Regions from separate parts of the Homo sapiens genome. Here all the other regions are linked to region 1. Evidence: promoter capture Hi-C in 16 types of primary human blood cells and fetal thymus (Javierre and others, 2016). All regions are on one chromosome and are shown on one strand. The core of a region is centred on a gene start or on the middle of the fragment in contact, and the rest is flanking DNA. Distances in the headings are between cores, read along the strand shown.

The links. Contacts are between HindIII fragments. The CHiCAGO score rates a contact against its expected background, and 5 or more counts as called.
Region 2: a fragment that was not itself captured here is called in contact with the fragment with the promoter of CA1 in region 1 in 9 of 17 cell types (erythroblasts, megakaryocytes, naive CD8 T cells and 6 more); the score reaches 11.4 in erythroblasts.
Region 3: a contact is called between a fragment that was not itself captured here and the fragment with the promoter of CA1 in region 1, in 5 of 17 cell types (endothelial precursors, total B cells, naive CD8 T cells and 2 more). The highest score is 7.2, in endothelial precursors.
Region 4: a fragment that was not itself captured here is called in contact with the fragment with the promoter of CA1 in region 1 in 5 of 17 cell types (megakaryocytes, fetal thymus, total B cells and 2 more); the score reaches 6.6 in megakaryocytes.
Region 5: a fragment that was not itself captured here is called in contact with the fragment with the promoter of CA1 in region 1 in 1 of 17 cell types (naive B cells); the score reaches 6.1 in naive B cells.
Region 6: a fragment that was not itself captured here is called in contact with the fragment with the promoter of CA1 in region 1 in 5 of 17 cell types (naive B cells, M0 macrophages, erythroblasts and 2 more); the score reaches 7.6 in naive B cells.
Region 7: a contact is called between a fragment that was not itself captured here and the fragment with the promoter of CA1 in region 1, in 7 of 17 cell types (erythroblasts, M2 macrophages, endothelial precursors and 4 more). The highest score is 7.5, in erythroblasts.

Annotation. Positions count from the first base shown.
Region 1 is chr8:85,375,878-85,379,722 of GRCh38, reverse strand. CA1 (carbonic anhydrase 1) reads left to right here and starts at 1,610. Exons shown (of 8, transcript NM_001128831.4): 1 at 1,610-1,677. RefSeq lists a promoter at 791-1,582. The HindIII fragment of the contact is 5,896 bases long and covers 1-1,817 here.
Region 2 is chr8:86,037,624-86,041,434 of GRCh38, reverse strand. No RefSeq gene overlaps it. Among named protein-coding and RNA genes, the nearest start is that of PSKH2, 30 kb to the left of the region's middle. The HindIII fragment of the contact is 1,474 bases long and covers 1,230-2,703 here.
Region 3 is chr8:86,065,799-86,070,171 of GRCh38, reverse strand. It overlaps PSKH2 (protein serine kinase H2), which reads left to right and starts at 504. Exons shown (of 3, transcript NM_033126.3): 1 at 504-734. The coding sequence starts at 550. The HindIII fragment of the contact is 951 bases long and covers 1,070-2,020 here.
Region 4 is chr8:86,092,006-86,096,193 of GRCh38, reverse strand. No RefSeq gene overlaps it. Among named protein-coding and RNA genes, the nearest start is that of ATP6V0D2, 4.8 kb to the left of the region's middle. The HindIII fragment of the contact is 280 bases long and covers 2,621-2,900 here.
Region 5 is chr8:86,130,978-86,134,953 of GRCh38, reverse strand. All of the region lies in intron 2 of ATP6V0D2 (ATPase H+ transporting V0 subunit d2), which reads right to left. Among named protein-coding and RNA genes, the nearest start is that of ATP6V0D2, 34 kb to the right of the region's middle. RefSeq lists an enhancer at 318-870. The HindIII fragment of the contact is 2,170 bases long and covers 636-2,805 here.
Region 6 is chr8:85,978,159-85,981,966 of GRCh38, reverse strand. It overlaps LOC107986954 (a long non-coding RNA gene), which reads left to right and starts at 3,361. Exons shown (of 4, transcript XR_001745984.1): 1 at 3,361-3,427. The HindIII fragment of the contact is 5,360 bases long and covers 1-3,808 here.
Region 7 is chr8:86,017,093-86,021,369 of GRCh38, reverse strand. It overlaps the pseudogene RPL36AP31. Among named protein-coding and RNA genes, the nearest start is that of PSKH2, 50 kb to the left of the region's middle. The HindIII fragment of the contact is 627 bases long and covers 2,485-3,111 here.

The DNA of each region.
Region 1 (3,845 bases), core at 361-2,860:
TATCTTTTCCGTCCTAACAGCATCTTCTCCTCTTGCCCTCTAAAAGACTACGTAAGTAAAATTCAAACCCACTGCCCCAGCTTCTCTGATATTTATACAGACATCCAAAATACAAACACATTTGACTGAAGTAGGCTCTTCTGCACTGACTATCCATAACTCATCACCCTGCTTCCACATATCCCACATCACACATTTACCCAACTGATAATTGCCCCAGAGATGAAAAATACTGAGAAATGAAAACCACTTCCAAACGGCCTTTTCTTCTGTATTGGGGTGCCCCCTCATGGCAAGTGGCAACTGCACTCGTATTTCCTCAATACATACCACAGATGGGCTACCCAATGAACAACTGCATATTCTCACCATATGCCCAACAAAAGCCACTGTCTTCCTCCAGTCCCATTCTTTAGTAATTTCCCTTTACCTAAATCAAGGTACAATTTTCCAGTCTAATGGTAATGCCACAAAACTATATTGTGTCCCAACCAACAAGGGTGTTTATCCCCTCTCCTTTGCCCTTCCATTACTCTGAAACTGGAAGCCACGAGATGCATTCTGGCCTCTCTTGGCATTCCTATTTATATAAATGTTAATTATTCTTTCCCTACCCAGCCAAATGTCATTGATGTGCCACATTTGTACCTATAATACTGGGACTCACCACTGCTCTGGGACTTGCTGCGATGGCCACAAGGACCATTGCTTTAGCCCAACAGTCAAAAATAATTGATGCTACCCTACAAATGTCCAAAACTCTAGTATATCATATTTCTAAGTTACAGCAAATATTAGTCCTGCTAAACCAGGGAGCTTTGGCAAAAATGTTTTTTGACAGTAAATTTGTCCTTGATTATATATTAACTAGTCAAAGAGGTGTTTGTAACATTATTAGAGCTTCTTGTTGTAGGTGGGTTAACACCACCAATCAAGAGGTCATTCTAACAGAAAGCCTGGATCAGAAAACCATCACCCTAAAAAAACATGCCTTACATATTTAACACACTCTGAAATCCAGTCAAAATATGACTAAAGGCCCTTGCCATGACTGATGTATTCTCCTGGCCAACGCCAAACAAATGGGAGCCTGGTTACGAGTCAGCCTTCAGGGACTTGTCACATTTCTACTTGGTTTCTTCCTTGTTATTGTCATAATAAAATGTTTTCTATGCTGTTTAGTGCAACTTAGGCCCTATTCTGTAGAAGTCTCCTCTACTATTCAGGCCACTCAAACACCCCAAATAATTGAGTTCAAAATCGACATCAAGATATAAAGGAATCAGTGACTAAATATATTTCATATATGGTATTTTTATTGATTATTGTGCTGTCTTGACCTAGTATGGAGGCCTTGGCTAGAGGCTGGTCAGTTTCCTCTCTTGAGCAGCTGATTAAATCCACACCCCAACCACTTCCCTTATCAGGTTCTCACACTCTGGGGCCACTATGTACCCACTCTAATCACCACAGGGCCAGACATCAGACAATTAAGGACAGCGCCCATGCCCCAAAGCCCGCCAAAATTATGCAAATTATTCAAAATTATTCAACCTAGCTAACCCCACCCTTTTTGCTGTACATAAGCTGCCCATTCCCCCTCCAGCCTGTGGTACCCAGTCCTCAGGTGCAACCCCCTGCGTGGTCCTCTGTGGCAGCCTTCTCTCATTCAGAGCTGTAAGTAACAAAGACTTCTGCCTTTCATCTAGCTGAGCATTGAAGTGTTTTATCCGACTGCCAAAAGAATCTTTAAATCTTGTAAAATACAGTCCTACCTACATCTTAATTACTATTCAATGAATGAAAGCTGCAAAGCTTAAAAAACCTTTATAGTTTTTCTAAACCTTTTATATTTATCAAGCAGATCTCTGTAAATCTGTAAATCTGAAAAGGATAATATAAATTACCTTTTTTTTTTTTGAGACAGAGTCTCACTTGGCAGCCTAGGCTGGAGTGCAGTGGCACCATCTCTGCTAACTGCAACCTCTGCCTCCCAGGTTCAAGTGATTCTCCTGCCTCAGCCTCCCGAGTAGCTGGGATTACAGGCACATGCCACCACACCTGGCTAATTACTGTATTTTTAGTAGAGGGGATTTCACCATGTTTGCAAGGCTGGTCTCGAACTACTGACCTCAGGTGATCTGCCCTCCTCAGCCTCCCAAAGTGCTGGGACTAGAGGCGTGAGCCACTGTGCCCAGCCAATATAAATTACCATTTAAAATTATTCCATGACTAATGTTCAATTTGACGTTAATTCCCCTAAACAAATAATGCAATTGATAGACTTGGTTAATTAAGTTCCTTTAAATATTATATATTATATCAATTACAAATTTAGTCTACCTGAATCTCTCAAGCATTTCAAATGCCTGACACATTAGTATCTTTTATACATCTTGCAAGTTTATAAAAGGAGGGAGGGGGCTCTAATAATTAAAGCAATTCCAGTAAAAGTAATAAACCAAATTTATGCAGTAGTAAGTTATGTTCTCTTAAACATTCAAACACTGTGTATAGACTGAAGAAAATGCTCTTGTACTTTAAAATTGAAATTATATGGTTCATATATCTGATTTTCTAATATATCAGGTTATATTAAATGCTTCAAGTAACTTAACAAACAATCTTTCATAGGTTATCTCAAGGATTAAATAATTAAATTTCTAAAGTTAATACAAATGTGTTAATATTGTGGATTTGACTAACTTCAACATTCTTATAGTTATTTCTCTCTTCTCCCAGTATTGTAAATCCACTTATGCAAATAAAGAGAATAGATAGATGTATGATCTGATTGGGCTGAGGATACTGTATCAGAGAATCAAGGCCAGGGTTGAAGTGTCAGTTAAAGAATTTGAGAGAGGGTCAGGGACCTAATTAGGTACCACACATGCCCAGGGTGCCTCTACACGACCCGAAAGTCAATCTGCTGGGCATCTCCTTGAGGTAACAGAGCTTTCCAAATTCACACTGTTTCATGCAGTCTAGTATATCATGTGTACCCTTACCTAGTTTTATTTATTTATTTATTTATTTATTTATTTATTTATTTATTTATTTATTTTTGAGACAATTTCTCTGTCACCAGGCTGGAGTGCAGTGGTGTGATCTCAGCTCACTGTAACCTCTGCCTCCTGGGTTCAAGCAATTCTCTTGCCTCAGTCTCCGGAGTACCTGGGACTACAGGCATGTGCCACCACGCCCGTCTAATTTTTGTATTTTTAGTAGAGACAGGGTTTCACCATGTTGGCCAGGATTGTCTCAATCTCTTGACCTCTGATGATCCGCCTACCTCGGCCTCCCAAAGTGCTGGGATTATAGGTGTGAGGCACCGTGCCCGGCCCCCTTACCCAATTTTTAAAGTTACCTCTTTTATAACTTTTTTGTTTTTTTGAGACAGAATCTCACTCTGTCACCCAGGCTGGAGTGTAGTGGCATGATCTCTGCTCACTGCAACCTCTGCCTCCCGGTTCAAGCAATTCTCGTGTCTCAGCCTCCCGAGTAGCTGGGATTACAAGTATGCGCTACCACACCCGGCCAATTTTTGTATTTTTAGTAGAGATGGGGTTTCGCCATGTTGGCCAGGCTGGTCCTGAACTCCTAACCTCAAGCGATCCACCAGCTTGGACCTTCCAAAGTACTGGGATTAAAGGCATGAGCCACCATGCCCAGCTTCTTTTATAACTTATAACTGTGTAATTTGATAGTTGAAATTCCCTCTATAGGATATTATTCACTACTCGACTGAATTCAATCTCTTTATTGCCTGATTGGAGTCAACTTGCTTTTTACATGTTTTATATCCAGTTCAATATCAAGAATCCTTTTGTCATTTTATTGACCAT
Region 2 (3,811 bases), core at 717-3,216, 660 kb before region 1:
AATCCCTTCAAAGAAGAAAGCAGATACATGCTTCAATGTGGTCATAAAATTACAACAAATAATTTTAATTAGTTGCTTGAGGGAAGCACATTCATTCCTGACCCAGACTGAAAAGAATTTCTTGTGGGATCTCCCAGGGAGGATGTACAATGTAATTAACAAGTGCAATGCAATCAGCAACATCCTCGTAGTAAACACAGTGAGCAGTTTCCACAGGTTCTTGTTCATAATGTCCCTCAATGTCGGCCAGTGGGTAATTTGATGAAAACAAGTCCAGGGAGCTCAAAAGAACATGGTCCAGGGATGGAGCTCCATGTTTGTCTGGATTACTGGAGAGAGGGATTTTTAGAAGATTCAAATGAAGGAATAGCTTACTTGCTTTTCAAATAATATTCCAGAAATATTGTTTCTCACCCTGATTTTGGTTTGCACTGCACAGCAGTGATTCCAGGTCCTACACGTGACATTACCTGCAAGGTGGCTGCCTGCAGTGCCAGCTCAGGGCACAGCCATGTGGGTGAGCTGGCAGCCAGTGGGCTGGGCTGACAACCTGTGCCACACACACGCTGGACAGAAGCTGCCTCCCCTCCACATGGAGGTGGGATGAGGGCATATCCTTGGATGCCACCAGGATTTTCTTCAGAAATTGGAGCCTGCTGCAGTGCCCAAAAGAAGGGGCAACAAAGGCCACCAAAACTCCACAGTAAATGGCATGGATTATTTTAATATTTGAAAAACCTTAAAGTGACTGTGGCAAAATACTTACTTCTGATACATAAAATAAATTTCATAAAGTGTCACATGATTTTTATTGTTAGTGTCCCCTCTTGGTGTACCTTCTTCTAAAATAAACTGGCATAAAGAACTGTTTCTAGGGAAATTGAATGAATTAGTGTGTTATGTAGAATTAATATCTTTATGCTAGTTAAAAGTTGGGGAACCTCTGATGAAAATGATGACTTGGATTTAAAAATAGATCTCTAGTTCTTCTTCCCAGCAGATATCCTATAGGAGGGTCATTTATCTATTGAAAGCATACCTAGTTTGTGATAAGAGAGCCTCTTCATCTATATTTTGGCTACTTATGATTTTATTTTTATAGGATTCCTTATCAATTATTAACACATTTTCTTGATAATAAATCATCTAGGCACAGATGGAATCTCCTCCCACTGGTGAAGGCAAATGCTTGTCTCAGCAGAAGAGCAGAAAAGTAAGAGCAAGAAGCTTTTCCTTGGATACTTTATGCCACAGCAAAGCCAGAGAGAAGCCAATTACATTTGCTTCCCATGATGCTGCAAAGGTTTGGGGAGAGTAGGAAAATCTTGGACTTTTATATTGAGTCCTTGATCACCCACACCTCCTAGCCCCCTTCAACATCAACACCTCCGGCATTTAAAAAGTGGGGCAGTGAGTCTGTAGCAGGAGGATGCAGAGGCTGCTGCGTGTTTACGGAGCCGTCCAGGGGATTAACCGACTGGGTTCAGCTGGGTAGTTCTCTTTTGGATCTAGAGGCGGAGATCTCCTTGTTCTCACAAAATGTCTAAAGTTAGATTCATGCCCCAGGCAGGTCTCCTGGTACCAACTTGGTGTGGCGGCTCTGGCCACAGTTTAGAGCAACTTCAGAAGCATGCTGTTTCACTCTGTGCCAGAGCTGGCTTCAGTTTTGAAGCGATTAGCGAAGCTCAGCGCTGGGCGCCTTGCATTAGCATTGCTTCAGCGCTAAGGACATTCCTGGCCACAGTCACTGCCATTTTCCCCTACCCACAGGTGTGAGTTAGAGACAAGCAGAATAGTGAGCAGGGGGTGGATCATGCGGGAGAGAGCTTTTCATGGCCTTTAGGACAGACTTGTGCTTAGAAGGGAAAAAGAAAGCAAAAGGGAAAGGAATCGAGAACGTGACCACTTCTTAGCACACACTCCAATGTCCTTAAAGCAACCCAGGGACTCTTCTTCCTCTGCCAGAGTTCATCTGAAATAAAGCCCCCCTCCAGAGTGGAGAAGCCACCCCAGAGTTATTTGTGAATCACAGCTTAGGTTTGAGGGTTTCACTAATCCAGGCACCAACCAAGGCAGAGGACCCGGGACTGGGACTGGCATATTTCCAAGAGATGGCCAGTCTCCATTGGCACTCGCAGACAAAGCGGGAGACACTAACAGCTGAGGGGACCAGGCTTATTTTTCTCTGGCAGGAAAACCAGGGAAGAAGGAGGCAGTTTGGAAATGTGGCTGTGCACAAATGCCAACTTCAAAGTGCTCTGTGTACAAAAGCCAGCACAGAAAGTAGGCTTCTTAGTGGAAAGAAGTGCATTGCCCCAGTGGAACTATAGTACATGAAAGATAAGAATTACTGAAACAACTGTTTTCTATATTGCAGTATGGGTGATTCTGAAAATAGGACCTCTTTGTGAAGAATAGCCTGTGGCTGCTGGATACAAAATAAGAGAAAAGAAGCGAAATCAGTCCAGGCCTGGGCTCTTAACATTCATACCTATGCAGACTTCAGGGAAGAAAAAAATCTCTGAGCACAATTTTATCAAAAGCCTTTACAAAATTGGTAGATGGATTGAAACATGGGTGTTGTAATTTTGAAAATGCAGACTTTTTAAAAAAAATTCTGATAGCTTTTCAAAACAAGGAAAGAAGTAAATCTCGTTGAGAAACAGACATCTAACCACTACATTGCAAAGTAGTAAACAAGCTTTTCAGCAATAATGAAGCATAATTCATCATATTTGTCTTATTAAATATAATTTTTATGAAAGTAAAATAAATCCTATGTTAATAAATAATTATATTTTACCATTAATAAAGACAAGTTAAAATTACTTTTAAAGAATTGTTTTATTTTTAGCTTGTCTTTTTGAAATTTCTAGTTTTGCACAATTTTCCTGAAGTGTATGTTCATATAATGGCATATGTAGATAATTTAATAGTAAACAAAAATAAGTAAATATATTTACTGATAAAGACTAAATAAGAAAGTTTGGAGACCATTAATCAAAGCTATCAAATGACATTTCTAATAATCTGCACACTCAGAAGGATTAAAGTTATTGATATTATTGAATATCCTGATGTTTGCTTTGGACTCAGGAATGCAACCTCAACTGAATTTTGTCCACAGAGTCAAAAGCAAAGGAAAGGCCAACAAAAGCCACAGAATATCTTTGTTATTCCTAGCAGATTTTTTTCACAAGAAGATTAAGAATATAATTGTTGTTTATATCCCAGCCTATAATTTATCAGAAGAGAAAAACGGGAAAATGGAATCTTTTTTTTTGCAGTGTCTGATAAGTTAATAGTTTACATCTTAGGGAAAGAAACAGATTACCTTTTTAAAGATAGGAAAGCCCACCTCTAGTTGCAGAAGGAAGGGATATACTTGTAGAAGTTGTAAAGATAGTCAGAGGCCAGGATGGAAGCCCAGTCTTCCTAATAGTCTTTAAGTAGTTCTGTGGTCGGAGCATCACATTGTTAGTCAATGCACATCCATTTTTTTTCAGCCTTCTCTGTATACAAAGCACTGCTATTTTAAAACTTTCTTTCACAAAGTTTTGTTCTGCTAAGATCACCTTCAATCCTTAAGAATGCTGTAGTTATGTATATTGAGACAGGGTCTTGCTCTGTTGCCCAGGTTGGAGCACAGTGATTCGCCCATGGCTCACTGAAGCCTCGATTCCGCAGGCTCATGTGATTCTCCCACCTCAGCCTCCCTAGAAGCTGGGAGTAGAGGCGTGTGCCACCACGCCCAGCTACTTTTTATTTTATTTTATTTTATTTTATTTTATTTTATTTTTGTAGAGTTGGG
Region 3 (4,373 bases), core at 296-2,795, 690 kb before region 1:
GTGGCCCTCAGTTTTTCTCTCTTAGATGGATTACCCGGAAGATGAAGGTCATGAGTGCCAGACACAGGCCTTTGTCATCCGTTTAATGCAATAGAAGGCAGTGAAGTTATACTTTAAATATTATAAGCTCTTAGAATTTTAAATATATATATATATGTATGTTTAATGTTCATGTCATCCGAATATGAGCTCAGCGAAAAGTTCTTTAGAGGGACGATATCCTTTATACAATCGTATAATTTTATATGTTCACTTTGTCAGGTTAGAGATGCAGAAAGTGAAGCCCAGACAATTAGGCGCAGGTTCTGCCTGTTGGTTGACTTTGCTTTCATCACGTCAGATTACACACACAGACGGTGACCAGCGATGATCCAGGCGTCTCGGTCGTTAGCGGGTATCCTGGGGGCTGTCTCCCTGACCACGACCCCCCAGTGGGGTTTCTTTCCGAGGGTCCCGCCCCTCGCAGCTGCTCTTTGATAAAGGGCGGAGGAACGGGGCTGGCTGCTTCCCGAGTCCCCAGGTCCCGCGAGCGGCGGGCGTGTTGCGGGTATGGGGTGCGGCGCCAGCAGGAAGGTGGTCCCGGGGCCACCAGCGCTGGCTTGGGCCAAGCACGAAGGTCAAAACCAAGCCGGCGTCGGAGGCGCGGGGCCTGGGCCCGAGGCGGCGGCCCAGGCGGCGCAGAGGATACAGGTGGCTCGCTTCCGAGCCAAGTTCGACCCCCGGGTCCTTGCCAGGTAAAGCGCCACGTGAGGAACTGGCCTGGGACTGGGCTGACAAAGAAAAACCCCTGGCCAAGACCGCCTCGAGGTTCCCTTCAGCTTGACTCAATTTTGGACAGGGTTCTTTCGGATGATAGGCACTGATCTCCCCCTTTCTCTGCCCTTTTGAGATGTAAATCTTCTACAACCCAAGAGTGTCTTTTTCAGGCACCTGGCAGCCATCCCTTTGAAATGTAGTCATCAAGAGAGTTAGGGCCACTGTCTCCCAGTCTCTGTGGGAGGGCAGGAGCCTAACTTCCATAAGGGCCAGGTAGCAAACACAGATCTCATTGACCACCTCTCCCTAAGCTTCTCCCATTCTTTTCCACTGGCTCACCCCAGCGCTTAAAAACTTTCTTGCCTTTTGTTTCGAAGGCGTCCATTTTCTTTCCCCTGTTGCAGAAGCCTCGACTCCTATTGCAATAGTCTGGGATAAGCCTTCCTTGCTGTGTTCCATAAGTGCCCAGTACAATTTCTCTTTGACATCTCTGAACAGGGAGTTCAGAGGATGGGAAAAAAGAGAGCAGGAGCAGCAGCAAACAAGGGAAGGAATTCCTATCTTCGGAGGTGGGGGGTGGGGGTGTGAGAGGACTGTCTGCCAACCTCCAGCATCTGCGGTGGAAGACGGCTTTGCCTCTAATATCCTGGGGCTGGGTCCTGCCAGACCTGGTGTGTGAAGGATCTTCCACTAATTCTAAAAATTGGGATTACAGCGAGTGAACTAGAGATGCGCCTTTGAGTCAGCCAGACTTGAGGTCCAGTTCCATATCTTCTATCATGTACCATGTAGAACATTCCTTAGCTTTTTTCCTTCCTTCGTTTCTAGCTCTGTAAAATGGGAGTATCTATCTCATAAGACTGTTGTGAGCATAATTAAAGTAATACATGTAAATTATGCTGCACAGTGCATGGTACCAGTCCTCATGCAGACATTAGTGCAATGCTGATTATTGTTTTCATGAAGTACAAATAAGCCCTTCCTATGTAGAAGATTTCAGGTTGGTTGGCCTCCTGAGTGTACCATGTTGGACATGTTGGACATTTTGACCAAGTAAATCACGGAATCCCCTTCTCCTCTGTGTGTTTGGGGAGACACAATAATGGGTGGCTCAGCTGGCTTCCCAAGGCACTGCTGGTCCTAGAATTGCATGCTCACTTCGTCACAGTGCTCTGTCCAGAATCTATGCAGAGCCATTTCCTGGCCTCCTTGAGAACTTTTAGTACAGTGACTCCTGGAGGATTAGTTCGGTGGCTGCTAAGCTTACAGAAGAACAAGGCTGGCTAATATGACTGAACTGAATCTGAGTAGGTACAGGGTCTTGTCAAGACTGAATTGGTTAAATGGCATCTCTGGTCATTTGTAGTCAGAGAGATGATGCTAGTCTGGTCTAGTTTTCATCCACCCTACTAATTCCCAATCCAGGGGTAGACCCAGCCCCATAGAGTGTAAAGGCATCACAGAAGTAGAGGATCTCAACATTATAAGGGCTTCAGAGATTTTAACTCAAGGCTCATCTTTAACCAATGAGTAGTTGTGTCCCCAAAGGTTAAGTGACTTGTCCAAGTTAGTGGTAGAATTGGGACTAGAACACAGTCGTCTTCCTTCTCCGTTGTGATTCCATCTATAACTTTTGCAGAAAAGAGATGATAGAATTTAGATATGAGTATATTTACTTTCTTGTTGGGAGTTTATTATAATTGTTTCTCTCAAGCAGATTGTAACACTATTATTATTTCCTTGTTTCAAATCTTTAATCTATGTTCAAAAATTCCCAGTTTGTATCATAGCAGCTGAGGTTAAAGTAATATTTCCAATTTACGTAGTCTCTGGGATGATACAAAATTGTCCAACCTACTAAACTGACTCTGAGGCTACTCTTTAAGAGAGTGGAGGGGTAAAAGTGAAGGAAATGAAAAGACCTTATAAAGGCATTCTTCCCAGCTTGATGTGATCTTTACTTAATGTTTGCAAAATATATATGATGATTCAGGAATAATATGTATTCAGTGAATGATTCTTTTGTTCAGTGTTTATTGCTACTCCTCTGTGCTAGGCACTTTACAAGGTATAGCCACGCAAATCATAAAGTTGGTCACCATTCATGGCAGTTGAGGACTCACGAGCAAGGCTGTAGCTATAAGAATTTGTTATGGGACAAATTGAATAACAATCTGAGGCATTTATTTCCACCACTCTAAATCTTGGCTTCAAGTGTACTGTTTCCTCCAATGCCAAATTACTAGCATTTTTTCAAATATTGGAAATATGAAGCCCCCTTAACAGTATTGAATAAAGCTTCTTTTATTTGAGCAAAAGCGTGTAGTTCTCAGAAATGGTAGTTTGTTTGATATGATTAATTCTGTGAACAAATGAGTTTGATGGCAGCTTTGAGGGCATAGCGATAAATTAGCATTTACAAAGTGCTTTCATCCACAATAGAGGTAATATAAAACTTGGTTGGTCTGCAAAGCAATAGAATTTGAAATGCCTGTGATTATCTTCAAAATCACACTGAGAATGCATGTGAATAGAAAAGCAGAGTTGGAAAGGGAAAAGGGGAAAGAATCTATTTAAGATTACTAAATTGCTATCTGTTTTGATAAGGTAATTGGCCAGAAAATTAAATGCTCTGTGGAGAACAAAGCTGTTTTCTGTAATCTGGTACAGCCAAATGTCATTTTTATTCAATACACACAGGAATATAAAGAACAAACAAGAAGGCAAAAAAAAAAGTTACAGGAAAAATAAGCTCAATAAAAGAAGTAAGACTATTTAAAGCATAGTTTAGTATTTGCATTTGAATCTTTGGTATTGAATATGTGATATAAAAACGTGCCTTCTCCCTGGGTACTCCCTGAGTACATTCCATTCTCTGTCATCCTTAGCTAGGAGAGGTTTTATTAAAATGAAGTCCAGGCACAGTGGCTCATACCTGTAATCCCAACACTTTGGGAGGCTGAGGTGGGCAGATCACTTCAGGTCAGGAGTTCAAGACCAGCCTGGCAAACATGGTGAAATCCCGTCTCTACTAAAAAAAATACAAAAATTAGCCAGGCATGGTGGTGTGCACCTGTAATCTCAGCTACTCAGGAGGCTGAGGCAGGAGAATCTCTTGAACCCGGGAGGCAGAGGTTGCAGTCAGCCAAGATCATGCCACTGTACTCCAGCCTGGGTGACAGAGCAAAACTCCATCTCAAAAAAAAAAAAAAAAAGGAGACCTGCGTTCTAATCCTGACTCTACAACGTAAACAACCAATTGGCTAATGTGGTCTTCAAATTTCCTCATCAGTAAAACAAGAAGTTGGGTTAAATACCCAACTTTAATATTCTTTCCAGCTATACAATCGTGATTTTAAGTCTAGCATTTTCTCAACATGTCTTAAATATGAGGTAGAGGGTTAAATTTGATAGGATTCTATTTTATTTTATTTTTTTAATTTTTGAGACAGAGGTCTCGCTCTCTCACCCAAGCTGGAGTGCAGTGGTCTGATCACAGCTCACTGCAACCTCAAATTCCTGGGCTCGAGGGATCCTCCTGCTTCAGTCCCCTCAGTAGCCGGGGCTACAGCTGTGCATCATGATTGGCTAATTTTTAAATTTGTTATAGAGAAGGG
Region 4 (4,188 bases), core at 1,511-4,010, 720 kb before region 1:
GGAATTTTGCTGTTGTGTGTGCAAAACAACTTTCCAATTTGCCATATTTTACATTTATATGTAGTGACAATTTCAATGCATCTTTAAAATAATAGTCACCCACATCTTTTGTTATTATGAAATTGATGGGTAAGGCAGCAAAGTATTCCCCTTCCCTTCACATTGTCCTTCTCGCCTGGCAGAAGCAAAAATGTCTCACTCCTGCTAAAGGTACTCGTCATAAATGCCATCAAGCTCACAAGAGATGAGAGGAAACCCAATAGAATGACAAGATCTGGAGTTTCTTTATAAATGGGTCCTTATGGTGAAAACATAATAAAATTGTCATTCCAGTGTTTAAACTACCAATGATGTTCAGGAGAGTGGGCTTTGGAATGTGGCAGGCATGGGTTTGTGGCTCCATCTCTCTAATGGCCAGTGTTTTCATGCGTAAAATAGAAATAATAACACCTGCCTCATAGGTTGTTGCAAAAATTAAATAAGATAAAATCTTTAGCATGCTTAGCACAGGTGGGCGTGTGTGCTAAGTACTTGGTGAAAGGAAGCTACAGTTTTAGTTATCCATGGTCAATGACAGTCTGAAAATATTAAATGGAAAATTCCAGAAATAAATAATTCATACACTTTAAATTTTGTGTCATTCTGAATAGTGTGATGAAATCTTTCTCTCGCCAGCCCCCTATGCCCTAGCCAGAACATGAATCCTCCCTTTGTCCTCCAGGCTGTAGGCACCCCCTGCTTGTGAGTCACTTAGTAGCCATCTCAATTATCAAACCAACTGTCAAGGCAGTTGTTTTGTGTTCAAATAACATTTATTTTACTTAATAATGGACCCAACGTGCAAGAGTAGTGCATCTAATTTATAGATAAACTTTAAATTACACTGGTATGTATGTACAGGAAAAAAACATAGTATATAAAGAGTTTGGCATCCGTTGGGGTGGATTAGGAGGGACTATTGTACAAAAACCACTGTAATCACATTTATTTATTTATTTATTTATTTATTTATTTATTTATTTAAGAAGGAGTCTCACTCTGTCCCCTAGGCTGGAGTGCAGTGGCGCGATCTCAGCTCACTGCAACCTCTCACTCCCGGGTTCAAGCGGTTCTCCTGCCTCAGCCTCCTGAGTAGCTGGGATTATAGGCACGTGCCACCATGCCCAGCTAATTTTTGTATTTTTAGTAGAGACGGGGTTTCACCATGTTGGCCAGGCTAGTCTCAAACTCCTGGCCTCAAGTGATCTGCCCACCCCGGCTTCCCAAAGTGCTGGGATTACAGGCGTGAGTCACTGAGCCTGGCCTGTAATCACTTTTAGATTGAATTTCTTAAATCCAGGAACAGTGCCTTATTCATTTTTCATTTTTCTTTTCTTTTTTTTTTAAAGAGACAGGGACTCACTGTCACCCAGGCTGGAGTGCAGTGGTGTGATCACGGCTCACTGCAGTCTTGAACTCTTGGGTTCAAGCCATCTTCCCACCTCAGGCTCCTGAGCAGCTGATACTACAGATGCACACCAACAGTCCTGGCTCATTTTTCCATCTCTTCAGTGCTTAGTAGCATGCCTTGTGGGGGCAGATAATTCAATACTCATTTCGTGAATTAACTAGAGTCAGAGTTTTAAAATGACTTAAAATTACTTTTACAGAATCTTTAATTCCCTGTTTCTCTAGGAAACACTATACTTGGCAAGTGTATCTGAAGAGTGAGGTTATTTTGTGGTTTTGTAGCCTAACACACATACATATATAATTGTGGATGCGTGTATACCTGTATAGGATGTATAGGAATTATTGTGACTTTTTGTCAACTTCAGGGGCTCCCAAGAGTCATTATCTTCATAGCATTAGAGGATCAATTTATTCTGCAAGGAAAGGAGATATTCCTTGAAGAGGTAAAGTGTCTGTTATTTTGAGCATAAAAAGTTTCTTTCTAGATGTGGTAGGTTCTTCAAAGCGCAATGCAAAAGCAAAGGAGAAGAAGGCTGCTTCCCACACAGCACACAGTCCTCTGATGTCTTCGATGCAGCTAAGGCAGCCAAGGCTTTGCCAACTCTAAAATAATTGTCAGGGTGGACAGTCATATTCACCCTCAGCCCCTGAAAGCATCTTTAGAGGCAGTGTGTGGTACACATTGCCCCTCAGAGCAGAACTATGATGCCATCGTTAATAGCCAATCAAAGGCCAGGTCAAAGCTCTCTCCTAGGACTATCAGCACTTTAAAAAAACAAAACAAAACTTTTAAACTTTTTAGGTTGGGTACAGTGGCTCATGCCTGTGATCCCAGCACTTTGCGAGGCGGAGGCAGGTGGATCACTTGAGCCTAGGAGTCCAAGACCAGCCTGGGCAACATGAAAAAATCACGTCCTTACAAAAAATACAAACAAACAAAAATTGACCTGGCTTGGTGGGCACGTGCCTGTAGTCTCAGCTACTTGGGAGGCTGAGGTGGAAGAATCAATTGAGCCCCCAGAGGTTGAGGCTTCAGTGAGCCTTGATCACGCCACTGCAATCCAGCCTGGGCAACAGAGTGAGAACCTGTCTCAAAAAACCAGAAACAAAAACCAAAAAAAATCCCAAAACAAACAAACAAACCAAAACCAAACCAAACTTTTAAGCTTTTTATGATGGGAAATTTTAAACATACAGGAAAGAAACACTACTATAATTAACCCCCACGTATCCATCACCTACCTTCAATAATTATGGACTCATGGCCAACCTTGTGTCAGTTATACAAAGGATCAGTAAAGTATTTTTTATATAGGTCAAATAGTAAATATTTTAGGAATTGTCGGCCATTTCAACTCTATTGAAATGACTCAACTTTGCTATCGTAGTGGAGAAGCAGCCGCATATCACACATAAATGAACGAATGTGACTGTGTTCCAGTAAAGCTTTATTTACAAAAACAGTTCGTGGGTCAGATTTGACTACTAGGGTATAATTTGCCAACCCCTGATCTATATATAACCTTGCTTGCTTTCTTCCCACCCTGAATTATTTTCAAGTAAAACCAAGATGTATTATTTTATCCATAAACATTTCAATATCTCTAAAAGATAAAGATCCTTTTGCAATATAATCACAATTCTATTAGCATACTTAAAGTTATTCCTTAATATCAACAAAATCTAGGCTGGACACGGTGGCTCACGCCTGTAATCCCAACACTTTGGAAGGCCAAGGCAGGTGGATTACCTGAGGTCAGGAGTTTGAGACTAACCTGGCCAACATGGCAAAACCCCATCTTTACTAAAAATAAAAAAATTAGCCGGGCATGGTGGTGGGTGCCTGTTGTCCCAGCTAAGGCTGAGGCAGGAGAATAGCTTGAACCCAGGAGGCGGAGTTTACAGTGAGCCGAGATCACTCCACTGCACTCCAGCCTGGGAGACAGGGTAAGACTCTGTTTCAAACAAACAAACAAACAACAACAAAAACCCAAAATCTAGTCAATGTTCAAATTTTCCCAATTGTTTTATAATTTTTATTTTATTTTTTTGCCGTCGGTTTATTTGAATAGGAGACACTACAATTGGTTTACGTGTTTTATATTTTCTTTTAGATATGCCTTCCCTCCTCTAACCCTTCTTTTTAAGAAACTGGTGGGTCATGTACCCTGTAGAGTTTTGCACATTTGGAATTTGCTGATTGCATCGTGTGGCGTCATTTAACATGTTGTGGTGTCCCCTGTAATTCCTATAAATTGGTAGTTAGATCTGGAGGCTAGATCACACTTATGTTAGATTTTTCTTTTGCAAGAACACTCACAACAGTACTGAATACTTGCATCAGAATGCATGTAACATTTGTCTCTCACTTTTTTTTTTCAAAGCAGCCATTTATGATCACCACCTAGATCCACTATTTCATTAGGAATAACAAAATAATTATATTTTTAGTTTATTACTCCTTCATTCATTAGCTGAAATACTCTAAAAAAGAAACTACATCAACTATTGGTTACCCTAGTATATAGTTTGTATAGAAAAGGCAGGATAGGCCAGGGGCAGTGGCTCATGCCTGTAATCCCAGCACTTTGGGAGGCCAAGGCAGATAGATCATGAGGTCAGGAGTTCAAGACCAGCCTGGCCTAGATGGTGAAACCCTGTCTCTACTAAAAATACAAAAATTAGCCGGGTGTGGTGGCGGGTGCCTGTGGTCCCAGCTGAGGCTGAGGCAAGAGA
Region 5 (3,976 bases), core at 471-2,970, 760 kb before region 1:
CAGCAGATAATATGTGACATTTTGAGACTGGCTATTTTAACTCTGCTCAGTGTTCTTGAGATACATGTAATACATTCAAGCTGTTGCATGTAAACAGTTTGTTCCTTTTTATTGGTGAGTAGTATTCCATGGTATTGATATACCACAGTGTATTTAACCATTCACCTATTGATGGACATTTGTGGTTTTTTTCTAGTTTTTGGCTATTATGAATAACAACTGCTAAGAACATCTGTGTGCTGATTTTTATATTAAAATAAGTTTTATTATTCTTGGATAAATGCCCTGAAGTGCAGTTGCTGAGTGGCATAGTAAGAATATGTTTAGTTTTTTAAGAAACTGCAAGACTATTTTTCAGAGTAGCTGTCCTAATTTTAGTGCAGTTTTAAAAACTTTACTTCTTTTTAAGTGTCTTTTCCTTCCCTGTTTATAACTTATATTTCCTCTATGTATATCGAGAACCACATCAGACAGAGTAATGATTTTTGCTTCAACTGTGAAATACAATTAAGAAAACTCAAGAGGAGAAAGGGTATATTGTATTTACCCATATTTTTCTCCTTTCTGTTGTCCTTTCTTTTTTCCCATTGTTTCAAGATTACTCTTTTTATCATTTCCTTTGTGTTTCAAAAGCTTCGTTTAGCCATTCTTTTAGAGTAGGTCTGCTGGTGACAAAATCTCCTAGCTTTCCTTCATCTTAGAATGCCTTGATTTCCCCTTCATTCCTGAAGGATTTTCACTGAATACAAAATGCTATTTTTTTTTCTTGTCTTTAGTGCTTGAAAAATACTACACCGCTTGCTTCTGGCTCCATGAGGTGCCTAATGAGAAATCTGCTATGGTTCAAATTGCTTCTCTCTTATTGGTAAGGTGTCATTTCCCATAGCTTTCAAGATTTGTTTTGTCTTTTTTTCTTTCAGAAGTTTGATTATGACATGTCTTGGCCTGGATTTCATTGGATTTTTCCTGTTTGGGGTTTCACTTAGCTTCTTGAATCAGTCGGTGTGTGTCTTTTGCCAAATGGGGGGAATTTTCAGCCATTATTTCTTTGAATACTTTTTCAACCTTTCTTTTTTTCTCCTCTCCTTCTGGGATTTATTACTACTCTGTGTGTGGCCTCTATTGACACCAAGGCTAAAAAGAGGGCTCATTACTGCTGGGAGGTGGTCAAAGGCCCAGCTTCCCGCTCAGCCCTCTCTGACCCCACTTACAGCCGGGTAAGGGTAGACATCTGGGTCCCCATCGAGCATTTGCTGACAGGGGTGGGGTTGCAGTTTTTCCCATGGCACTTGGTTAGAGTAGAGCCATTATTATCTGAAGATTTTCTGCTTGTGGCCAGGCGCGGTGAATCACGCCTGTAATCCCAGCACTTTGGGAGGCTGAGGTGGGTGTATCACAAGGTCAGGAGTTCAAGACCAGCTTGGCCAATATGGTGAAACCTCGTCTCTACTAAAAATACAAAAATTAGCAGGGTGTGGTGGTGGGCGCCTGTAGTCCTAGCTACTCGGGAGGCTGAGGCAGGAGAATAACTTGAACCCAGGAGGCGGAGGTTGCAGTGAGCCGAGATGGTGCCACTGCACTCCAGCCTGGTGACAGAGCGAGACTCCATCTCAAAAAAAAAAAAAAAAAAAAAAAAAGACTTTCTGTTTGTGAAGCTGCCCCTTTCCTGGTCCTTTGGCTAGAGAGAACAGCCTTTCCTTGGGGGCATTTTTGTATGTGCCCATTGGCTTTCTGGGCTGTAAGATTTTCTAGCATCCAGTTAGGAGTGTATGAGGCAACCCGAAGGAAAATCCGAGAAACTCAAAACCAGGTCATTCCCTGGGTCTCAAGTTTCTTAGCCAATCAGTCTTCTTCTCTCTATCTTTTAGTCATTAGTGTCCTCCAAGACGCCAATACTTCAACCACAATAAGATAGCATCTTACCCCATTTAGAATGGACAGTATTAAAAAGACAAACAATAAAATATGCTGGAGAGAGGATGTGGAAAAAAGGAGATTCTTATACACCATTGGTAGAAATTTCAATTGGTACAAGTACTGTGGAAAACAGTAGGAAGATACCTCAAAAAACTAAAAACAGAAACACCATACAATCCAGCAATGCCACTACTGGGTATCTATACTAAAGAAAATAAATCAGTATGTCAAAGGGATACCTGCACTCACATGTTTATTGCAGCACTATTCACGATAACAAAGATATGGAATTAACCTAAGCATCCATCAACAGATGAATGGGTAAAGAAAGTATGGTACAGATACACAATAGAATACTATTCTGCCATAAAAAGAATAATATGTCATTTGCAGCAACATGGATGGAATTGCAGGTCAATATGTTAAGTAAAATAAACCAGGCACAGAAAGCCAAATATCATATGCACTCACTCATATGTGGGAACTAAAAAAAGTTGATCTCATAAAGGTAATGAGTAGAATGACAGATAATAGAGGCTAGGAATGGTGGGTGGTAGGGAGGGGGAGAGGAGGAGAAGTAGATTAAGAGGTATAAATATACAGTTAGATAAAAGGTATAAGTTCTATAGTTAGACATAAGAGCAGAGTGACTATAGTTAACAACAATGTATGACATATTACAAAATAGACTGATGGTTCCCAACACAGAATGACAAATACTCAAAGTCATAGACTCCTCAGATACCCTGACCTGATCATTACACATTCTATAACTGTAAAAAAAAAATTGCATGGACCCCATAAATATGGAAAATGTTATTTATCAATTAAAAAAACAACACACTAACACTTCAAATGGTCCTGTGGTTTGTTTAGTGCCCTAAAGCTTTTTATACCTCAGGGCTATACATCATAGTATGGTGTAAAAGGATGGTGGAAAAAGAACAGTTGTGATAAGGAGGTGATAAGGGGAACCCAGCACAGTGTTCTGACTTCAAGTACTCTTAGGTAGTTTTAGTATATATACATATAGGCACTCAGGATCTGGAAAGTGGTCATCTTATAATCACTCCTGTCTCCATAACCCTTGGAAAGCATCCTGTAGACCTAGGGGGACATGTATAACAGTGGAAAGGTTGCTGTCTTATAGAATGTTCAAAATTATTCACTAAGATAGGTTTTAATTTCTTTCTTTTTTAAATTTCAATTTTTGCATATGTTTTTAAATGGACATAAGGCTGGGTGCAGTGGCTCCCAGCTGTAATCCCAGCACTTTGGGAGGCTGAGGTGGGCAAATCACCGGAGGTCAGGAGTTCGAGACCAGCCTGGCCAACATGGTAAAACCCCATCTGTACTAAAAATACAAGAATTAGCTGGGCGTGGTGACAGGTGCCTGTAATCCCAGCTACTCGGGAGGCTGAGGCAAGAGAATCACTTGAACCCGGGAGGCAGAAGTTGCAGTGAGCTGAGATCGCATCACTGCACTCCAGCCTGGGCAACAAAGTGAAACTCCATCTCAAAAATAAATAAATAAAAATGGCTGGATGTAGTGGCTCACATCTGTAATCCCAGCATTTTGGGAGGCTAAGGCGGGCAGATCTTGAGGTCAAGAGATCGAGACCATCCTGGCCAACATGGTGAAACCCTGTCTCTACTAAAAAATACAAAAATTAGCTGAGCGTGTTGGTGTGCGCCTGTAGGCCCAGCTACTGGGGAGGCTGAGGCAGGAGAATCGCTTGAAATCAGGAGGCAGAGGTTGCAGTGAGCCGAGATTGCACCACTGAACTCCAGCCTGGAGACAGAGTGAGACTTCGTTCCCCCCACCTCCCACACAAAATAAATAAATAAATATAAAATTGACATAATATATTAGAAAAATGCATATAATATATAATTAAATATGTTATATTATTTTGGGCTTGTGTGTTAATGATAGGTGTATGATTAAAGGATGGTGATCACTGATCTAAGGGGACAGAAGGGACATTGGACACTATATGACAAAGAACCGCTGGCCACACTGTTATTTATCTCTAAGATAAAATCCAAAAGGGTCTCT
Region 6 (3,808 bases), core at 816-3,315, 600 kb before region 1:
CTAGAGATGATTTAGAGTATAAATGAGGATGTGCATTGGTTATATGTAAATACTACTTGCTTTTGTGTCTATTCCTTCTACCAAACTGTAAGCTGTGAATTACAGTTTACAGTAGATGTGAGGGCTGAAAATATAAACATTAAACAGATGTGGCTTCTTTTTTTTTTTTTTTGAGATGGAGTCTCTGTCTGTCGCCCAGGCTGGAGTGCAATGGCGCAATCTTGGCTTGCTGCAATCTCTGCCTCCCAGGTTCAAGTGATTCTCCTGCCTCAGCCTCCCGAGTAGCTGGGATTACAGGCGCCCACCACCGCGCCTGGCTAAAATTTGTATTTTTAGTAGAGATGGGGTTTTGCCATGTTGGCCAGGCTGGTTTCAAACTCCTGACCTCATAATTGGCCCCAGTTTGCTAATTCTTCACCTCTTCATATAATTATTTAATAATTAATTTTAAGGTACTATGAGTAAAGCCTAGTCAATACAAACCAATATCATCATTTTTTTTTCCTGTGTTTCTTTTTTTCTGCACTTATGACACTCTGGTTTGTTTTTTGGAGGGGTAAGACTGAATTAAGTGTTACTCCATACAAACCAGTGTCTTTAAATTTGATTTTAGCTCAGTTAACAAATGAAGGAGACAAAAAAGCCACAGCATCTATAGCCTGGTTGTTTAGAATGATGAGGTTGTTAACATTTTGGCTCCTCATCTTTCATTTTTCACCTGCAGCCAATACCATGTTGCCACACACAGTCTTCTTTGTATCTTGCTGTTTGATTATGTCAATGTTTATTTTACAGGCAACTGGTGCCCATGAGGTCACCTAGGGGAGACCCCACGTGTGTGTGATGTACATTTTTAAGGAGCTACTGGTACAGCAGTGCACATTAATGAGCAGGTGAAAGCTACAGAGCAGCTCCAGTAGCAGCATGACAGTGTGAAATTGTAAGTGGTGATGTCTGAAGATGAGTTTGGGAAATGCAGACTCTGCCTTTCTCGTGCACTCATATGAAAAGTCACCTGGGGAGCACTGGATTCTAGGTAAGTTGTTCAAAGAGGAAACAGGCCAGGTGCGGTGGCTCACACCTGTTATCCCAGCACTTTGGGAGGCTGAGGTGGGCGGATAATTTGAGGTCAGGAGCTTGGAACCAGCCTGGCCAACATGGTGAAGTCATGTCTCTACTAAAAATTTGAAAATTAGCTGTGCGTGGCGGCGTGTGCCTGTAATCCCAGCTACTCGGGAGGCTGAGGCAGGAGAATTGCTTGAACCCAGGAGATGGAGGCTGTAGTGAGCTGGCTGTACTCCAGCCTGGGTGACAGAGCGAGACTCCATCTCAAAAAAAAAAAAAAAAAGAAAAAAGAGGAACAGCCCCTGTGTTTAGCAGGTCATTGGGTCGCAGTAATGAAATGCTTGTGAATAAATTCCAGGTTAATATTTTCAATTTTAAATGCAGCCAAAACTGATCACGTTAGGATGCTTTCCATACCTCAGCCTTTGAGCGAAATGTATATCTTCACCCCTACAAATGAAGAGAACTGGGGGGTCTCCCTGCTTTAAACCTCTAGAGACTTTTTGTTCTGCAGACTGTACAGGAAACATGGAACCAATATCTGCCTGGCTTCTGATGAGGCCTCAGGGAGCTTTTACTCATGGTGTACAGTGAAGAGGGAGCAGGCCTGTCACATGACAAAAGAGGAAGCAAGAGAGAGAGGAGGAGGGGCCAGGCTCTTTTAAACAACCAGCTCTTGTGATAACTCATGATCATGGGAAGGACACCAAACCACTCGTGAAGGATCTGCCTCCACGACCCAAACACCTCCCACCGTGCCCCACCTCCAACATTAGGGATTACATTTCAACCTGAGATTTGGAGGGGACAAATATACAAACCATATCACTGTAGTTTGGCAGGTTTTGGCCATCTTTCTCAGCTTTTAGCTTTTGAATTTCAGCTTCTGCAAAGGTTCTAAATATAATATAATAATAATATCTACCATATACTGATTATGCACCAGACTAGGTGCTTAATGTATTACATTAAAACCTCATGACTCCACAAGGACATATATTGCCTTTATTTCACAGATGAAGAAATTGTGAGAGATTAAGCCACTGCTCAAGGCCTCTTAGCTAACAAATGCTTGAGTCACATTTTGAATGAAGGCCTATGTGACTCATGTTTGTTTTTGTTGAAGTAAAATATGCATATGCCAAGCAATAAGAAGAGGCCTACAAATCACGAAATAGCAATTGATGATCACCTCTCTTCATTCCCTATTTTACTTCCCACTGGCCAACACCTTCAACCATCAATTTTCTCTAATGGTGTTTAACTCCACATTTCTAAGTAATATTCTTTGTGATGGTTAATTTTATGTGTCAGCTTGACTGGGCTAAGGGATGCCCAGATAGCTGATAAAACAGTATTTCTGGGTGTGTCTGTGAGGGTGTTTCCCAAAAAGATGAGCAATTGAATCAGTAGACTGAGTAAAGAAGAGCCACCCTCACCAGCCTGGGTGAGTATCATCCAATCTGTTGAGGGCCTGAGTAGAAAAAAATGATGGAATAAGGGCAGATTTATTCTCTTTTTTCTTTGAGTTGGACATCCATCTTCTGCCCTCAGACACTGGTTCTTGGAATTTCAGAGTTGGGCGAGGAGTAACACCATTGGCCCCCTGTTTTCAGGCCTTCAGACTCTGACTGGGACTTGCACCATAGGCACTCCTGGTTTTCAGGACTTTCACTTAAACTGGAACTATATCACCAGCTTTCCTAGGCCTCCAGCTTGCAGGCAGTAGATTGTGGGACTTCTCAGCCCCATGCTTGTGTAAGTCAATCCCTCATAATAAATCTCCTATATATCTCTACATATACTGTTGCTTCTGCTTCTCTGGAGAACCTGGCCTTATACATGCATATACCATTGTTTCTTTTTTATTTTAAATTAAAAATTACATGAGAAATAAATAAATTTACATTCTCATTGTAAAAGATTCAAACAGTACTGAAATTCATTGACTAGAAAAGTTCTCTTTACTTCCCCAATCCTACTCCCCAACCTACTTTTTAATTTTGTATAATGAAAAGTTTTACACACAAATAAATGTGGAGAGGACAGCATATTGATTGAACCCCTGTGGCCACTCTCAGTAATCTTTGATAGCATCCCTGCTTTCAGGCATAACAAATGTCCCAGGCACATCCTGTGCATTTCTTATTCCAGACCTGAAATCAGGCATTTCTCCAACGAATGTTCATTCTTTTTCCTGGAACATGATATTGAGAGACTCAGCAATATCTGTTAACTTCCTGTTACATAGATGAGGAGTTTGCTCTCTTGTGTCATTCTCTGGCCTTAATAGCTGTATTCTAACTTTGGGTTAAGGCAGTATTAATGGATGACATTATTATGACCACGTAATATAATTCATGTATGTATTATGACTATATTTCTATTCTTACATAATTTTTATCTTACCCTTGAGCTATTTATTGTTCTTTTATTTTTATTTGCTTAGTTTTCTATGTACCTTATTCTGTATAATCAAGTCCCCTAGCTGTTTCTTAATGAACATTTCTTGACAAACACATCAGAAAATCTATAACTCTCATTTTTTATTTTAATTTTTTTTGTTCTGGACATTTCTTTCAGTCGTTCTATTCAATTGTGTACTGGTTATTTTCTTGGCCTATTGTGAAGCTGTTATTCTGAGGCTTTTTCTTTTTCTGTCATCAAGAGAATTCTGTTTGATGTTCTTCTATGTTGAATCTCCTTGTTTTCGTTTTGGAACTTGTGTCTTCCTTTTTCTGGG
Region 7 (4,277 bases), core at 1,549-4,048, 640 kb before region 1:
ACAGTCCTTAACCTTGGCGAAATAAACCTTTAAGCTGATTGAGACCTGTCTCAGATACTTTTTGTTTTCCAAATTTAATTCAATTCTGACACCAACATAAGTTAGTGCACACCCCCACAGGTGAAGGGCTCAGGCCCATATGACTGCCCCCATGTAAGACGTTAATTGCAAGTAGTGGGTTCCCAGGTTACCCACAACTTCTGATGGACCAGTTACAAACTGGAGGGTCTCATAACCCCCTTCTTGGGTTTGATCATTTGCTAGAATGGCTCACAGAACTCAGGGAAACACTATCTTTACCTATTTGTTATAAAGAATACAACTCAGGAAAAGGCAAATGGAAGAGGTACATAGAGCAAGGTATGGGGGAATGAAACCACCTTTGCAAAGATTATGTTACCAAAACACCACAGGTTTGTCCTAGGTCAAGTTGCTTGCCACAGTGAAAGCCAATTACTGAGACAATGAGTATTGCCAGGAAAGAAGGCTTTAATCCAATGCTACAGAAGAGGAGATGGGAGATCAGACTCAAATCCATCTCCCTGACCAACTAAAATTGGGGGTTTATATAGCAGGAAAGGAACATAACTACATGTGTGTAAACAGGAATTGGGGGGTTGAGTAAGGAAGAGGAGTTAATTAACCAACAGGAAGCAGATGGTCAGATAGGCAATCATGACAGGTGAGAGATCTGGCATCTTACTGTTCAGATGCAGTGATCTGGTAAGTTTCAGTTTCTTGATACTATCTGGGAGGACTGATGGTTTGTTTCCTGAGAAAGGGACTCAGATAAGATAAATGTAACTTTCTTAAGTTTTAAGATTGGGAGTATCAATTTCTATGTTTATTCAAAATAAACTGTAAATGTCACTTCTATGGGAGAATTGGGCCAGTTTCAGTTTCCCCTATTTATCAGTTCCTCACTCGTGTGGAATCTGATCGTTCATCTTTCTGGCTGCTTCATGCTAAGGAAGGGCATTGTGGGTAGTTCCATGCAATGGGTGACCATGTGACCACTCAGGAATCAAAGGTTGATCTAATATCATGATTTTCTTCAGAAGCACACTTTTTTTTCTCTCCAGTCCCCAACTTTCACCAAAGACAAATCACAGCAGGACCAACCTACCTGCAAAATAATCATCAGTCCCACTATACTGGGCCTGATTACCCACATGAAGTGCAACAAGAATCACTGTCCATATAGGCTCTTCTAAACTGGCTTTTCTGAAACCTCTCACAAGGCCATTTTAGTCAAAGCCCTGGGAAAATAACCAGTTCTTCCAACTGTATCCCATTATGAAAGAAAACAAATTTTTATTGAACTTATGCAAACAACCACGTTGTCATGAATTAAGAATATTCACAAATAGTTTATGAATTCTGGAGAAATTAGACAGAAAGAGAGAAATATGTCTCAAATTCTGCATACTCTACTTATTTGCTAAAGGCTATAAATAGCTCAAAGAAAAAAGTTCTGTCGACTCTGAAAAGCAAAAGAATCAGCAATGTTTCAAAGAAAAAAGCCATAAAAAAGTACTTCTGTCCTCCATTAGTTCAGTCCATGCAATCAACTTCTGCTCTGCTTCATATTGGATTTGTAAATGTTATTGACACATCCACCTTTTAATTAGAGTCCTGGACATTTTTCTCTAGTCCAGTGGCACAATCTCCAGTTATGAGAAACACGCATTTAAGAGTCCTTTTCATGAACTCTCCCAGAGAAGAAAGCCCTGGACTGTAGCTGATTATAAGCTGCTTTTTGCAAAGAATCAAAGCAAAACAATTGTGGAATGCAAAAGTTTCAGGACAGACACAATTGACAAGGAAATTTGGTAATTTTTGTGGCATATAAAAACTTAACATAATAATCATAATTATTACTGACAACATATATTAAGACATATCAAGATTTTAGGAATCTCATAAAATCCTGAAACACATTAACAATACATCTATATAAACATAACTCAACAGTTAACATTTATTTAACGTGTGTCTGGTTCTTCACCAAGTACTATAAACTCACTTTATAGTCTCCATTTTTCAGACCAGAAAACTGAGACTAGAAAAATAAGCAACTTGCCAATTGTCGTGCAGAGATGCTGAATTGCATAGAATGGACATGCTAATGTGAAGATTAATTTAGAATTGCATCTCCCAAGTTCTCTAGTGGTGCCTAGCACCCTAGTGGTGACAGAATATTGGAGCTTGGAGGGATTGTGGTGTATATATCCAGTTCATTGCCACCAGTGTACAGATATTTAACCTTTGGGAGGCAGAAGACACAAAACTTAATGTGCTCTAACAATACTGCCTATTCTAGTTCCTGTTGATGTTTAGGATGGCAAGTATATACTTTGTCAGTAGTGTAATACTCAAGTTAACTTATGTATACAGTAAATGCAGCCCTAGAAAGCTGATATCTTTATTCACAGTTCTGAGAAGCATCCAGCAGCTGTTTAGCTTTCACTCTCAGAGAAAGCTTTCTGGTGTCCAGAAACTTCTCCTTTGCCTCATTCCCTGATCCTCTGATAGTGGCAAAATGTGGGTTCTGTGTCCTTATTATGGCAGATAAAGACCTACTGATAAATCCAGTTGTCATGACTTGTTATTTCATTTATTCACTCAAGCAATTATTTATTTATTCATTAGATAACCTGACCAATATTAACTTTATTTTTTTAATTTTATTTTTTAAATTTAATGTAATTTGATTTTTTTAAGAGATGGAGTCTCCCTTTGTCACGCAGGCTGCAGTGCAGTGGCGTGAACGTGGCTTACTGCAGCCTTGACCTCCCAACCTCAAGCCATCATCCTGCCTCAATCCCGCAAGTAACTGGGACTACAGGCCTATGCCACCACGCCCAGCTAATTTTTAAATTTTTTGTAGAGATGGGGTTTTGCCATATTGTCCAGGCTGGTCTTGAACTCCTAAGCTCAGACGATCCACTCACCTCGGCCTTCCAAAGTCCTGGGATTATAGGCGTGGGCCACTGTGCCCAGCCTGACCCATATTTATTAAGCACTTAACCTGTGCTGTGTACTATCCTAGGCTCTGGGGATAAAAAGAAAAATAGGACATGATTCCTATCTTCAAGGAATTTACAAGCTTCTAGGAGAATCAGTCTGGTAAACAAAAAAGCAGTATAAAGATATCAGTACTAAGTTAGAAATAATGTTGTGTAAAGAAGAAGGAATAAAGAAGCTGTGATTCATCAAAGTATTATTTATGGTAATTACGGTATTATGGCAAGACCATGGGCTTCCTGACTATTCTAGGATTCATGTCACTCAAGTAACTATAAAAATTAGAGGCAAATTACCAATTAGAAACCATTGAGAGACAGCATGATTACATCAAAATGCTGTTATGATTTTATGGATTTAAGTGTGTGTATATAGATAGCACATATGGTAAAAAAAATAAGCGTACACTTTGAATCATTAACAAAACGGGCAGAGAACATGGGTGCTGATCGCTGAGTCTGAAAAATAGTACATGTCAGAGCATCGGGAATGAAATTGTCTGCCACACTCTCTTGTTAAAATGCAATCATAGACATCAATGGGCTTTGTTCTGCTTCTCCATCTCTTGCAGGTGGTTGACAAGATAAACTCTGAAAGATCTTCTTAGGAGATATTGTTTCTCATTTTTGTTTTCTTTCCATTCCTGTCATTCCACACTCTTGTCAGGGTTCTGTGGGCCTGGTGCCACCTGCCTCATGTCCAAGGGCACACAAAAAGACTGCCATTTTTGGCAGAGGGCCGCTGGGGGAATAACAACTTACAAAGGAAATACTTGTGAAAGGGAAGTACATACAAGTCCAGGGTCCAGGAAATATTTCTTTTTCCTCATGTACTTCTTTTCGAATGAGAACAAACTATGGTAACATATTCTAACTGCAGTGTTGTCGGCAAGATGTCCTCCTCTTCTTTGCTGAGCTAGTAAATCATTTTAGACTCCTCTGAAGACTTGGCCCAGAGCCCTATAACACTTATTGAAGCCAATTCCTCTTCTCATCAAGTAAGGACAGTAGTAATTTTCTTCCCTGGGGACATAAGTTTATGCTTGTGAAATTCAGAACTATAAATGGTCCAAATTTGGGAAAATGAAAAAATGATAATGTACTATAATATATAAAATATTATGATACTATAATTGAGGGTTACTTTTTTACCTTTCATTTTTTTTGAACATAAACTCAAGATTTTATTGTCTTCATAATAAAAGAAAAGATGACACTTAGAATTGGATCACTTGGCCCTTTCTCTTCTTA